2 separate regions of the Homo sapiens genome follow, and region 2 is linked to region 1. The links are contacts of gene promoters, found by promoter capture Hi-C in blood cells and fetal thymus (Javierre and others, 2016). All regions are on one chromosome and are shown on one strand. The core of a region is centred on a gene start or on the middle of the fragment in contact, and the rest is flanking DNA. Distances in the headings are between cores, read along the strand shown. Region 1 holds the start of LAMTOR5 (late endosomal/lysosomal adaptor, MAPK and MTOR activator 5). Region 2 holds the start of CFAP276 (cilia and flagella associated protein 276).

Region 1 (7,261 bases), core at 2,910-5,409:
CCCGGTGGGGTTGAAGTCACAGTGACCCATGATCACACCACTGTACTCCAGCCTGGTGCCAGAGCAACACCCTGCCTCAAAAAGAAAAAAAAAAAAAGTAATTTTTATTCTCTGATTAGTTTTCCTTTGTGCTATTTGTTACTTTCTTTTTGTTGGTAAACTGATAGCTTCTGCCAATTCTTATTCTTCATTTAAATAGCATTGTGGCCTGAGAGCACATTAGCTTTAGGGATCAACTTGTCTGTTCCTGTGATTCAAAAGATTAAGAACTTTTCCCAAAGTAGTCTGAATAAGGAATCACTGATGAACACAGGGCCGGCCCCCGCCAATTTTACCAGGAATTTTTCTGAACAAAAAGGAAAGGATCTGCTGAAATCTACTCACCCATTATCTGATTCTAGACACACCACAGGAATATCAGTGGGGTCAGAGGTTAGCTTAGCTGCTTGCTGGGCTAGAACAGATATCACTCCAGCATGCTCATCTGACAGGGTCCCGCGGCCTGGAAAATAGAGATGATATATGTCACCTGATTGCTCATAGAGTATTTCTGCTAAAATAAGCTAGCTGGCTGTTTTAAAATGTCTACAGAATTGTCTTTTTATTAATGTCTGTATTAGTCTGTATATATTATAGTAACTAAATCTCGGGTACAAAAGTACCTATAAATTCTAGGTACGAAAATTAATTACTAAGTGTACTTTACAATATATTTCTGTATATAAAGGCAACACAAAGTTAACTGTACCTGAAACCAAATCAGGTAATAGACATGCCACTATGGCAGAGCATTTGGATGTACTATTACTATACAAAACATTTTGACCAGATCCGATGCCGACGTTTGAGCCTTGAAGGTTTCTTGAAGGAACTCATTTAGTTTTAGATTTCCATACCTGAATTTCAGTCTTTCCATTAGTAAGCCTAGCAAATGCTTCCAAAAATTTACCCTTTTTCTCCCAAATGACTGATCTGCATGTTAAACATAACTGAGTTACACCGATTACCTCTTTCAGTTACCCTTCCAGCAAAAATTCAGAGCTTTAAACATTCCTGCATTAGGAGCAACAAGTCTTGGGTTTACTAGTTGTCACTAATTAACTGAATGCTTTACTTATTTACCTTTCCAAACTTATTTCCTCATGTGTAATTGCTACCATTTATTAAGTATTATGTCTCAGTTCTATGTAAGCATTTTATACATATTATATAACCTTAAAATATCGTGATTAGGCCGGGTGTAGTGGCTCATTCCTGTAATCCCGCACTTTGGGAGGCGGAGGTGGGTGGATCACCTGAGATAAGGAGTTCGAGACCAGCCTGGCCAACATAGTGAAACCCTGTATCTACTAAAAATACAAAAATTATCTGGGCGTGGTGGCAGGCGCCTGTAATCCCAGCTACTCAGGAGGCTGAGGCAGGAGAATTGCCTGAACCTGGGAAATGGAGGTTGCAGTGAGCCAAGATCGTGCCACTGCACTCTAGCCTGGGCGACAGAGCAAGATTTCGTCTCAAAAAAAAAAAAAAAAAAGTGATTAAGAGGCCTCAGGGCCAGACAAAAATCCTAGCTTAACGACTTACTAGCTGCATGACCTCAGGCAAGTTATTTAACCTCTGTGTCTCAGTTTCTTTTTTTATTTTTTGAGACAGAGTCTCGCTCTTGTCATCCAGGCTGGAGTGCAATGGTGCAATCTCGGCTTACTGCAACCTCTGCCTCCCAGGTTCAAGCGATTCTCCTGCCTCAGCCTCCCGAGTAGCTGGGATTACTAGCACCTGCTACCATGCCTGGCTAATTTTTTTTTGCATTTTTAGTAGAGATGTGGTTTCACCATGTTGGCCAGGCTAGTCTCGAACTCCTGACCTCAGGTGATCCACCCGCCTCCGCCTCCCAAAGTGCTGGGATCACAGGTGTGAGCCACCGCATCCGGCCTCTTTTTTTAAATTTTAAAAACATATATATATGTTTATTGTAAAAATAGAGATGGGGGGTCTCACTGTGTTGCACAGGCTGGTCTTGAACTCCTGGGCTCAAGTGATCTGCCCACCTTGGTCTCCCAAAGTGCTGGGATTACAGGCGTGAGACACTGCACCTGGTCCCTCAATTTCTTTTTCTACCTCACTGGGTTGTTATGAGGAATAAAAGAGTATATGTAAAGCACTTACAATGGTGCTTGGCACATAACAGCTCAATAAATATAATTCTATGATTATTACCATTATCAAATAACAACCCAGTGAAGAAAATGAGGGCCTAAAAGGTAGTTTTTTGGTCCACGTTCACACTACTAACAAATGAAAGAGCAAGGGATTGAGACCAGGTATGTCCAACACTGAAATCCCATTTTACTGCCTATTCACTTCTTGTTTAGTGTAGTTGAGCTTCAAAATTGTACACCACCCACCTTGCCGGGTTGTTGTGAAAATTAAAGATAATGTATTTAGAGCCTAGCAGTCTCAGCATATGGCATACATTCAATAAATGGTTAACAGCTGTTATTATCTGAAGTCCTTTCTAGACTCAATTTAAAATGATTCAAATATTATTTTTAGTAGAGACAACTATTTATTGTTATAGGACTGCAAGGAACATCTTCCTTCATAAATACCAACTGAAAAGTTTCAATTTTCTGATACTGTTATTTGGAGATAATCTCTACTCTCAAACTCAGAAAGACCTGGCAAGGTAACAGGAAATAAAAGCTAGAAAATAATAGCACGCTAGGCTCCAAGTCAACATCAGATGCTATGCAATTCATCAAATAGTTGGTATGAGAGATACTTACAACCCAGATTAAGTCCTTGTGAATCTGTGCACAGGACTCCAACAATGGAGGGATTCTTCATTCTAATTCCAGGAACACAAGAGAGTTGAAGTACATAATGGGAGAAAAAGGATTTAAATAAGTACAAACATACAGGTGTTCTATGTACCAGGCATTAAGTGCTTTAAATCAATATTTCTCAATCTTTTTTCATTGTCACACCCTAAGAAAAAAATTAAGTTCTAGGGCCGGGCGCGGTTGCTCACGCCTGTAATCCCAGCACTTTGGGAGGCCCAGGTGGGCGGATCACCTGAGGTCGGGAGTTCAAGACCAGCCTGACCAACATGGAGAAACCCCGTCTCTACTAAAAATACAAAATTAGCCAGGCGTGGTGGCGCATGACTGTAATCCCAGCTACTCGGGAGGCTGAGGCAAGAGAATCGCTTGAACCTGGGAGGCGGAGGTTGCAGTGAGCCGAGATCACGCCATTGCACTCCAGCCTGGAAGACGAGCGAAATTCCGTCTCAAAAAAAGAACACAAAAAATTTAAGTTCTAGTTAATTAATTGAAATAAACCAGTTTCTCTCTGATGAGAGAAAAAAATGTGCTAAGTACTGCTGAGTTCTGGAGGGCCACAAACACTGCGTGAAAAACATCTAGGATGTTTTCACTCTTGTTAAAAACGCATGTTTTAGTACTAACTCATTTAAAACAACTGTTGAAAAACTCAAGTTACCTCCTGGAGGGTAAGTGGAAGCTGAGGGACATCGGTGGGAGGCAGGTGTCTCTCTGTACCCTTTACACTTTTCCAGTTTTGAATTTTACATAGATACTGCTTGTTCGAAAAATTTAAAGAATGATTTTTATCTACTTAAGCACCAAGTAACTGATAGGTTACACACAGGAGATACGTGTTTGTTTACACTGCAGGGCTCGACACTGCACAACTGGCACAATCTTCCCAAAAGTCAACCCGTTTTCTAAAACTTCCGCAGAACCACCCTGACCGTAAAGACGATTTCAACAACGAGATAGGCAGTTTTGGCCCGTGGCCTGGGCCCGGGAGACTCGCTCAAGAGGGAATGTGCGGTGCCCGGCAGGATTTTAATTCCGGGTCACCCGCCCCGCCCTGCGGCCTTGGGTAGAGTTTAGCCCCCTCATCCCGTGTCCCGGGGGTCGCGCGACGTCCCCGAGACGCCCTGGCCGGTACTCGCAGCTCGCGCCTTTCGTTCCGCTCAAGTTCCTCCGCCGCGACCTCAGGACAGGCCGAAGAGGCGCGCACTACTCACGTGTCTTCCAAGTGCTGCTCCAAGGTCGCCTCCATCCCACCCACCGACCACTCCGGCTCAGAACCCAGCGGCACGGCACGTCCTTCTCCACCACAGGCCTCAGTCACTTGACGCGAGCGGGGCGTGGACCGTAACGGCGCCTCCAAAGGGACAAAATTGATCACGGTGCAACGTCCGCGTTCTTTACTGGAAAACATCACTGCGCTTCCGTCGCACAGAGCCTGACGAAGGCTTGGGCTCCCCGCGCGGTGACCGTCGAGGTGACCTGCACCTGGCTCCATGGCGGAACCGGCCGGCACGGATTATTCCCCTCTCGGGAGAGGTCTGCAGCCGGGCCTCAGTGCTTCAGTTCGTGGCCTGGCATTTTGTGTCAGTGTTTTTTAACCTTTGGACCCTAGTTCAACCGACTCCGAGACCTAGGGGACAGATCTTAAGTTTTACAATAACCCAGGGGTCAGACAGGGTCTGATCTAGCCTGTGGGGCAAGTACGGGGAAGACACGGGACCTCTTGGAGGGGGTCAGTAGGCTTGTAGGGGGAAAGACGCACACAGAGACTAAAGGACGAGATGGAGCAAGGTTCAACCCCCTAGCTGAGTGTTGGCAGTGTCGGGATTTTAACGAAGACATTGGTGCTTATTATGGTGAGGGGACTCAGGACAGTTTAGGGGAAGAGAGTGGCATTTGAGTCCTAACTCGTAAGGAAGACTGGGTAGGACTACTTGAAAATAACTTTTAAAAATTAATTATAAAGCTGGTAAAAATAGGAAAACATCTATGGCCCCACTGTCCAAAGACGACTTTTAACTTCTTGGAGAATATCCTTTCAGATAGTTGTCTTTGTAAATGTATACTTTTAATGTTTTTTCGTTTGCCTTTTTAAAATAAATTTTTTGGGGGACAGGGTCTTGCTCTGTTACCCAGGCTGTAGTGCAGTAGAACGATTATAGCTCATTGCAACCCGGACGTCCTGGGTTCAAGCTATCCTCACCTCTCAGCCTCTCGACTGGCTAGGACCACAGCCTCGAGCCATCATGTCTGGCTAATTTTTACGTTTTTTTGTAGAGATGGGGGTCTCGCTGTGTTGTCCAGGCTGGTCTTAAACTCCTTGCTTCAACAGATCCTCCCACTCCAGCCTCCCAAAATGTGATTACAGGCTGAGTCACCACGCCTAGCATGGTTTTTTTTGTTTTGTTTGTTTTGTAAGCAAAATTGACATACATACTGGAGGTACAATTCTGTAGCTGGCCTTCTTTACAGAGTTTAGAATAAATGTCTTTCCATGTCAAGTTTTCACTTACATCCTTTGTAGTAGTTGCAAAATATTCCATTTTATAGCTGTATCTTAATTGTGGATTAAGGTTGGAGTGCAGTGGCACTATCATGGCTTAGTCCAGCCTCAGCCTTCTAGGTTCAAGCGATCTTCCCACCTCAGCCTCCCAAGAAGCTGGGACTACAGGGACCCGCCACCCCACCTAGCTAATTAAAAAAAAAATTGTAGAGATGGAGTCTCAGTGTGTAGCCCAGTCTCAAGTGACCCTCCCTCGTTGGCTTCCCAAAGCGCTGAGATTGCAGGTGAGCCACTGTACTTGGACTTTTTTTTTTTTTTTTGCTTTTGTTTGTTTTTTGTTTTAGCTATTACAATGCTGGTTGAATATCCTCATAGCTAAATATCTGTGCAGTTTTAAAATTTCCTTATAAGTTACTAGAAATGGAATGACTGGGTTAAAGGACATGATCATTTTTTAAGACTCTTGATACATACTTACAAATTGCCTCCCGAAAAAGTGGTGCTAATTTACTCAAATTGGTAAGCCTCACCCCCTCTGTGGATCATTCCTTGCACTAAGTTTCTTCCAACTCTGTCACCTCCAGCTTTTTACTCACAGCCTACCTTCCAATCTGGGGCCCAGCTCCCAGATCGGAAGATACCAGACTTTGGTATTGAACCAAAGTCCAATACACTGCACTGGCATTCAGAGTCCCTTTTTATTCCGCAGCTGTCATAGTGAAGCTTGCAGCTTCCTTGAAATTCCAGTTTGTTTATTTCTTTATTTTTTTGAGACAGAGTCTTGCTCTATCGCCCAGGCTGGAGTGCAGTGGCGCCGTCTCAGCTCACTGCAACCTCTGCCTCCTGGTTCAAGCGATTCTTCTGCCTCAGCCTCCCGAGTAGCTGGGATTACAGGCATGCACCACCACACGTGGCTAATTTTTGTGCTTTTAGTAGAGATGGGGTTTCACCATGTTGGCCAGGCTGGTCTCAAACTCCTGACCTCAAGCGATCCGCCCACCTCAGCCTCCCAAAGTGCTGGGATTATAGGCATGAGCCATTGCACCCAGCCAAAATTCCAGTTTGAATGTTATAATTCAGGGGTCTTGGACTCCTGCTCTAGAGAAATTATTCATGTTAAGTTAGGGGTAACACAGTACAGGCCATATAAGTTTTAGAAAAAGCAGTTTAAAACTTAGCATTAGAAAACATAAGTACTGCCTGGTGAAATGGCACGTGCCTATAATCCCAGCTACTCAGGAGGCTGAGGCAGGAGGATCCCTTGAGCCCAGGAGTTCAAGTCCAGCCTGGGCAATATAGTCTAGTGGCCACATTAAAAAAAGTAAAACAGCCGGGCGCGGTGGCTCACGCCTGTAATCCCAGCACTTTGGGAGGCCGAGGCGGGTGGATCACGAGGTCAGGAGATTGAGACCATCCTGGCTAACACGGTGAAACCCTGTCTCCACTAAAAATACAAAAAATTCTCCGGGTGTGGTGGTGGGCGCCTGTGGTCCCAGCTACTCAGGAGGCTGAGGCAGGAGAATGGTGTGAGCCTGGGAGGCGGAGCTTGCAGTGAGCCGAGATCGCGCCACTGCACTCCAGCCTGGGCGACAGAGCGAGACTCTGTCTCAAAAAAAAAAAAAAAAAAAAAAAAAAAGTAAAACAGGGCAGGGTGCAGTGGCTCACGCCTGTAATCCTAGCACTTTGGGAGGCCGAGATGGGTGGATCAGTTGAGGTCAGGAGTTTGAGACCAGCCTGGCCAACATGGCGAAACCCCATCTCTACTAAAAATACAAAAATTAGCTGGGTGTGATGGTGCGTGCCTGTAGTCCCAGCTACTCAGGAGGCTGAGGCAGGAGGATCGTTTGAACTCGGGAGCTGGAGGTTGCAGTGAGCCGAGATTGAGCCACAGCACTCCAGGCTGTGCTACAGTGTGAGACTG
Region 2 (7,261 bases), core at 3,024-5,523, 1.3 Mb before region 1:
GCAAAGAGAAGAATGGTATGGGGCAAGACTCCCCAGGCTCTTGATCCTCCTATGTTTTCTTAATGAGAACTGACAGAAACAGGCCAGGAATATAGGAGAAGGTGTGGAGTGGGATGAGGGGAGTGAAGAGTTGGGAGCAGATAGGAAAAATGATGAGCTTAGGTTTAGATGTACTGAGTTTGAAGAAAAGGTGAGACATTCTAATGCAAATAACAGGTAGAAAATTGGAAGTGTAACTTGTTGGAGGAGAGCTCAGAAGTCTTGGTTGTCCACATGAAGTAGTAGCTGAAGCCTGCAAAATGGAGTCAGGCCAAAAGGGAAGAACGGGTTTGTGAGGATTGTACAGTATTATAACTGGGAGTGAGGAGGGCCCTAGAGAAGCAGTCAGAGACGAAATCAGGAGAATGCAATGTCTAAGCAGGTGAGAAAAAGATTCCAATAAGCAGGGAAGGGTCATTGATTGCAGGAATGGCAGAAAAAGTCCACTGGACATTAGTCCTCTCAATAAAACTCCACAGGCATGAATGTAAAAAGCATGTAACAGATTTCTTCATTATATGTAAAATGCCATATTCACCACTGTATCCCCAGTTCCTAGCACACTACCTAACACATGGTATTAAAAAATGCTTGAATCCACTATATCATTTGACTGAATTCCAGTGAGTGCAACTAACAACCTATTAGAACTCTCGCTGGGTGCAGTGTCTCACCCCTGTAATCCCAGCACTTTGGGAGGCTGAGGCGGGCGGATCACCTGAGGTCAGGAGTTTGAGACCAGCCTGACCAACATGATGAAACTCCATCTCTACTAAAATACAAAAATTAGCTGGGGGTAGTGGTGGGCGCCTGTAATCTCAGCTACTTGGGAGGCTGAGGAGGGAGAATCGCTTGAACCCAGGAGGTGGAGGTTGCAGTGAGCCGAGATCGCGCCACTGCACTCCAGCCTGGGCAACAAGAGTGGGACTCTGTCTCAAAAAAAATAGAACTCTCATTAGACCTATCCAACATTGTAATCCTCCTTCCCCACAATATGGCAAAGTGCTATGTGAGCCATACCTTTTTTTTTTTTTTTTTTTTTGAGACAGAGTCTCGCTCTGTCGCCCAGACTGGAGTACAGTGGCATGATCTCGGCTCACTGCAACCTCCGCCTCCTGGGTTCAAGCGATTCTCCAGCCTTAGCCTCCCGAATAGCTAGGATTACAGGCATGTGCCACCGCATCTGGCTAATTTTTGTATTTTTATTAGAGATGGGGCTTCACCACATTGGCCAGACTGGTCTCAAACTCCTGACCTCAGGTGATCCACCTGCCTCAGCCTCCCAAACTGCTGGAATTACAGGTATGAGCCACCGTGCCCCGCTGTGAGTCATACCTTAATTGAACAGTGTGTATCAGGCACTGTGCTATCACTGAGAAGAATGAAGTATGAAAGAAAGAAAGCTACAGGTATTTGATGCCAGCATAGGCTCAGTTGTCCTTTGATGTGGCCCTGAGCAGCACTCCTCCCACTCTCCTTGAAGACCACTTAAACCTCGTCATCTCTGTCAGCAGAAGGATGAGTCTGTCTTTCACTGAGAAAGTCCAGACTGTCAAGCATGAATGCCATCTTTACATCCACTTTCTTTCCATCTCAGGGAAAGGAAAGTCCCTTTTACTCAAGAATAACCCTTTCTCCCCAGACCCACCCTTCCCTGGTCTTCTGAGACCTGTACCATTCTGCATACGCTCTCTTCTGACCCCAGCCTCACTTCATTTCTTTGTCGTGGTCTAGCTACCAGCCTGTCACCTTCCCTACAGAACCAGACCTTTTCAGGAGTCAATATTTACTATCTCTACTTCCTCACTCACCATTCCCATACCCTCTTTAGCTCACTGCAGTCTGGCCTCTGCCTCAAGCACCCCCTAAAACTGCTCTTGCTAGTTATCAATGATCTCTGTGGCCAGGTCAGGTGGATCCTTTCCAGGCCTGATCTTATTTGAACTCAGCTGTTTCTGGCACCATAATGCTGATTCCCTCAAATGCCCTCACCAAGCTCTGTGGGCCCAGCTCCTCTGGGTTTTCCTCTTATTTCTGGCCCTTATCTCTCAGCTACTGTCTCAGCTCCACTTTCTCTCTGTCCCTTAGGCAGTGCTATTCTCCAAGGGTCTCATTTTTACTTTTCTTATGCTCACATCCACTGGATGAGCTGATTCCCTTCCATGGCTTCAACTACCATATGGGTACCATAGCTCATACGGATACACAGCTCAGTCATACATCTTCAATCCAGAACTCTCAATCCTGTTGCCTACTATTGACCTTCACTTAAATATACCACAGTCACTACAAAAACATCTACATAGTTGATGTTTCTCAACATCTTTCTCCCCAAACCTGCTTCCCCAGGATGCCCCATTTCAGTGAAACCTCAGAATTAAACCGTTAGGAACCCAGCAGCTATCCTAGACTCACCTCCTCTCTTGGGCCCATGTCCAGTCAGTCTCCAAGTCCTGTCAGTCCTGCCCTGTGCACCTTTCTCACATCTGCACCTGATCACCACCCCCTGTGGCACTGCTGTAGATCTGTTACTCTTCCTCCTGGAGATCACCTCACCTGCCTCCTAGCTGATCCCTCTTGTCTCACTCTCATCCTATCCAGTCTGCTGCCACTTGTGCTTCCTAAAACACCCATCTGATTGTGTCACTGTGGTACTTAAAATCCTGCTATGGGGCTGGGACCCATGGCTCATGCCTGTAATCTCAGCACTTTGGGAGGCCAAAGCAGGAGGATCACTTGAGGCTAGGAGTTTGAGACCAGCCTGGGCAACAAAGGAAGATCCTGGTTCTACAAAAAAATAAAATAAGAATTAGCCGGGTGTGGTGGCATCACCTGTAGTCCCAGCTACTTGGGAGGCTGAGGTGGGAGAATTGCTTGAGCCCAGGAGTTCGAGGCTGCAGTAAGCCAAGATTGCACCAGTGCACTCCAGCTGGGGTGACAGAGCAAGGAGACCCTGTCTCAAAAAAAAAAAAATATCCCACAATGATTCCTCACATCCCTAGGATGAAACCATAGCTAGCTAGCATGGTGTACACAGCACACCCAGCCAACCAAGGGCATCTCTCCAGCTCTGATTTCTGAGTGCTTCCATTGCACGCCTACACTCCAGCCCTTCTAGACTATTTGCAGTTCCCCAAATAAGCCATTCTCTCTCTCCTTTCCATGTATTTGCACCTGCTGCTTCCTTTGCCTTGCATATCTGGTTCCTGTTTCCTTCTTCCTAACTCACATTCTATCCACTCCCTCACCTGGCCTACCTAACTCATATTTGGACATCAAAATGCATCTGCTCTGTGAAGCTTTCCTTTAAGTTCCTGGTTCTCACGGCACCCTGCACACAACTCTGTCACAACATGTGCTATTGTGCAAGCATTTTTGCTATTGTCGGTCTCTCTTTACTACTAGAGTTCCTTGACAGCAGAAGCTACATCTAATTTATTTATATATCCTTGGCGTTTAGCAGAGTGTCTGGCTTATAGTAAATAAGTATTGAATAAATAAAAAGGGGCTCTCAATATTGTTATTAGACCACAATCACCACTTAATTCATCTTATTGTGCACCACTTCATATATCCCAATCACTTCTACCAGAAAAAAGATCATCTAAGTTCCGAAATCAGTGTCCACCATCATGCTAAACACACACATAACAAACATATTGTGGTGTTAACCAGAAGACAGAGACAGTGTGAACACAGATGTGTAAAGCATGACCTCTGGTGGCTTTCAGAGGATTCTCTCCCACTCCATATCTCATTTCTCTTCAGAGAACAGTCTTCCAAATAGGGAAATGGGTAGCTTGAAGGAACCTGGGCACTGCCATAACTTATACTCACAATTGATTTGAGCTGCCAGAGCCCCTTGTTCCTCTAGACTAGAACTCTACTTTCCTCTGCTCAAAAACGCCTCTGAAACGTTAGCCGACTTGAATATGGAGATAGGGAGGCAGGCAGAAAACAGACTTCCCTGGTACCCGACTGAGTGTCTTCACCAGAGTCCTTTATGTTACCATCTCTGCTCATCACACAGACAGAAAGAAGACTACCGGCGACCCTACTGGGAATCTGCGCAAGAAACCACAGTACCTTGGAAGCCCGCAGTTCTCCTAAGTAGGAATCATCGTTATCTAATGTAGGCTGCTGGAAAGGGTCCCGGGTGGGAGGCATGGCTAAATGCCTAACTCTTTTAAGAGGGATGGGAGGCCCGCTCAGCCGCAGCACAGCCTCACTGGCATAAGATCCCGGGTCCCAATTGTTTGGAGCGCTGGTTTCGGTTGCCAGGCAACTGCCCAGCCATCTATGACAGAGGAATTCCCTCAGAGGAGGGCGCCACCTGGCGGCTGACCACGGGAGGCCCCTGGGGAGGAAGCTCCGGGGACTGCAGAGGGAACGTTCCGCTGAGCGGGCCCGAGACTTGGAATTGCACTCCTGAGCCTCGGCGGAAAAGTGCTGGCTGCTCACCATCAGGACTTCTGCAAAAGACTTCAGTTGAGGAAAGAAGTCCTGAAAGATGACCCAGAAATTTCCTTCTCCCTCGCACCTAACAAAAGGCTTTCAAAGCCATGAGAGAATGAGGATGTCAAGAGACCAAAGAGGGCCGGGCGCGGTGGTTCACGCCTGTAATCTCAGCACTTTGGGAAGCGGAGGCGGGCGGATCGCTTAAGCCCAAGAGTTCGAGACCAGTCTGGGCAACATGGCGAAACCCCGTCTCTACAAAAAGTAGGAAAAAAATTAGCTGGGCTTGGTGGCACGCGCCCGTAGTCCCAGCTACTCGGGAGGCTAATCCAGGAGAATCTCTTGAACCCGGAAGGCGGAGGTTGCAGTTAGCCGAGATCGCGCCACTGCACTCCAGTGTGGGCGAGAGAGTGAGACCCTGTCTCAGAGAGAGAGAGAGAGAGAGAGAAAGAGAGAGAGAGAGAGAGAGAGAGAGAGAGAGAGAGAGAGAGAGAGAGAGAGGCCCACGTGCGGCGCTTGGGAAATTGCGGCTAAGGCAAACTCCTCGCTTAAACTCGGATCAACTACAGTGTCAGGGCTTCTCTTCTAGCCGGTTGTAAAAGCACGGATGGATTTGGCGGGATGTAAGATCTCCAGGAGTGGCCTTCGTAGGAGGGAACACGTACTGGGGCCTCTTCCAGGCGACGACGTCTGGAGGGTGATCTCTCCATCTTCTTTCTCTCGGTTCACACGCCACGTGTGCAACATCGGAGATGCTCATAAAATAACCCCTGGCCCGAAAGGGCAGTAGAAAACGGAAATTTGTTGGCTGGCTTGGAGGATGCTTCCACTGTGTTCTTCACACGAGCCCCGGGCCTGCCTGTTGGGCCGGTTGCGCACCCCGGGCGCGCGCTCTCCCGCGCCCACGCCGCGCGCACCAGCGGCGGCGGCTGCCATGGCGACCCGCAGGTGAGCTGCAGAGGCGCGCGTGGTCCCTGCCCCACCCGCGCGGAGCCAGAGAGGAGGCGGTTGTCAAGGCGACGTGGGTAGGAGGAGAGGACAGAGGGAGGAGGAAGGATGGGCGGTGTTGGCGTAGCCGCAGGGAGGTGACTGAAGCGAGCCTGGCCTCTTGCATCCTCCGCCTGTGTACCTCCCTCCCCTTTTTTTCCGCCTTCTGCCAGCAGAAGCAGCAGCCGCAGCACCTGAGCCGCTACTGCCGCTCACTCAGGACAACGCTATGGCTGAGCCTGGGCACAGCCACCATCTCTCCGCCAGAGTCAGGGGAAGAACTGAGAGGCGCATACCCCGGCTGTGGCGGCTGCTGCTCTGGGCTGGGACCGCCTTCCAGGTGACCCAGGGAACGGGACCGGAGCTTCATGCCTGCAAAGAGGTACTGCCGCCCCCCTACCCGATCCCGCTTTGGTCACAAAAGTCTTGGATCCAGGCGGAGACCTTGGGGACCCAGGCGCAGAGAGTTTCAGACGCCACGGAGTTTAGATTTCTTTGGGGATGAGGCGTGGGGGGAGGGAAGAGGAGCCAGTCTGGCGTCATGAGGAGGCCAGCACATTGGAGGACTCACGGATAGATCATCCTCACAGATTGGGATGCTGAGCTCAGCGAGAAAGGTCCCAGCCCCAAGAAGGGGAGCTACCTGGGTACCTGAACTCAGAATGAGGGAGGCAGACGAGTTATTTTCCAGTTAGGATGAACTCACCTTAAAAGTGGTTGACAAGAAAAGATTATGCACAGAGAAGCAAAATAGGAAGAGGAAAGAAGAGTAGTGGGAGAGGAAAGGAGTTAGGAAGGCCAGAAAAAAGTATCAGAGCGAAGTGGTTTTATCATGGCTACACAAAACGGAGTGTGAAGGTGGGAGATGTGCGAGAGGGATGATAGGATTCCAGCTCTCTAGTTCCTTGTTTATTAAACATCGGTTAGTGCAGACTGTAAAATGTGTCTCCTCCTTATAGCTTGGCCTCCCCGCAGCGTACTATGTTTAGTGTACCTGACAGTACACGACTCACCTTTTTGCAGATTTTGAGTTCTTCAATATCTTGTGTTCTGCCAACCTCTAGTCTCCTTCTCTGACTTAACATATGTCAAAGTCTTTTTCAAGGTATTTCCAATATGTTGGAAGCAGAATTCAGACAATAGGTAGTCAATCTCTTATAACCAAAAATAGCTTTTGAAAAGTCATCTTGGAGGAACATAAAAGGGCACTAGCAGCAACAAAACTAAGTCATTTCTATGTTATTGAAATAACAATATTTGGTTGTGCTCTGAGCAACTTTTTTAGAAACCATATGGCAGAGGCAACAATAAGATATTTACAAGAACTACGTTGGGGAAGGCAAAATAAAAGTTCTGTTATTTCTGTGAAATGTGAAGGACTTCATAAAAAGTCAAGCATCTAGCTCTGTAAATTTAATCCCAAATATCAAGCTTGACTAAGGTTTTGAGAGGTTAGAATATATATATAGATGTATTTTCTTTACTTTAAAAAATATATGTTTTAAAATAGAAATGAGGTTTCGATATACTGCCCCGGCCAGTCTCTAACTCCTGGGCTCAAGCGACTTCCCACCTCGGCCTCCCAAAGTGCTGGGATTATAAGAATGAGCCACTGCGCCCAGCCCAGAATATTTTTTATAAATTGTTAGTGTGAACTGATTGGCAACAACTCCATCCCATATGGAGATAAATTCTTATAAAGATGTTCTGTGTCTACAGCACAGCAGGTCATAAAGAAGTCAGGTGTGGGGGGGAGGATTTTTGTGTGAATAAAGATACT

What was found. The method cuts DNA at HindIII sites, captures the fragments that hold promoters and counts their contacts. A CHiCAGO score of 5 or more calls a contact.
Region 2: the fragment with the promoter of CFAP276 here is called in contact with the fragment with the promoter of LAMTOR5 in region 1 in 2 of 17 cell types (neutrophils and total B cells); the score reaches 6.7 in neutrophils.

The regions. Positions count from the first base shown.
Region 1 is chr1:110,403,535-110,410,795 of GRCh38, forward strand. LAMTOR5 (late endosomal/lysosomal adaptor, MAPK and MTOR activator 5) reads right to left here and starts at 4,160. Exons shown (of 4, transcript NM_001382293.1): 1 at 4,052-4,160; 2 at 2,784-2,845; 3 at 385-502. The coding sequence starts at 4,086. It overlaps LAMTOR5-AS1 (LAMTOR5 and SLC16A4 antisense RNA 1), which reads left to right and starts at 4,275. Exons shown (of 3, transcript NR_102697.1): 1 at 4,275-4,420. RefSeq lists an enhancer at 4,102-4,331. The HindIII fragment of the contact is 8,453 bases long and covers 1-6,061 here.
Region 2 is chr1:109,108,474-109,115,734 of GRCh38, forward strand. CFAP276 (cilia and flagella associated protein 276) reads right to left here and starts at 4,274. Exons shown (of 5, transcript NM_001245025.3): 1 at 4,126-4,274. The coding sequence starts at 4,206. It overlaps ELAPOR1 (endosome-lysosome associated apoptosis and autophagy regulator 1), which reads left to right and starts at 5,642. Exons shown (of 22, transcript NM_020775.5): 1 at 5,642-5,863. The coding sequence starts at 5,711. RefSeq lists a silencer at 5,394-5,463. The HindIII fragment of the contact is 3,574 bases long and covers 3,337-6,910 here.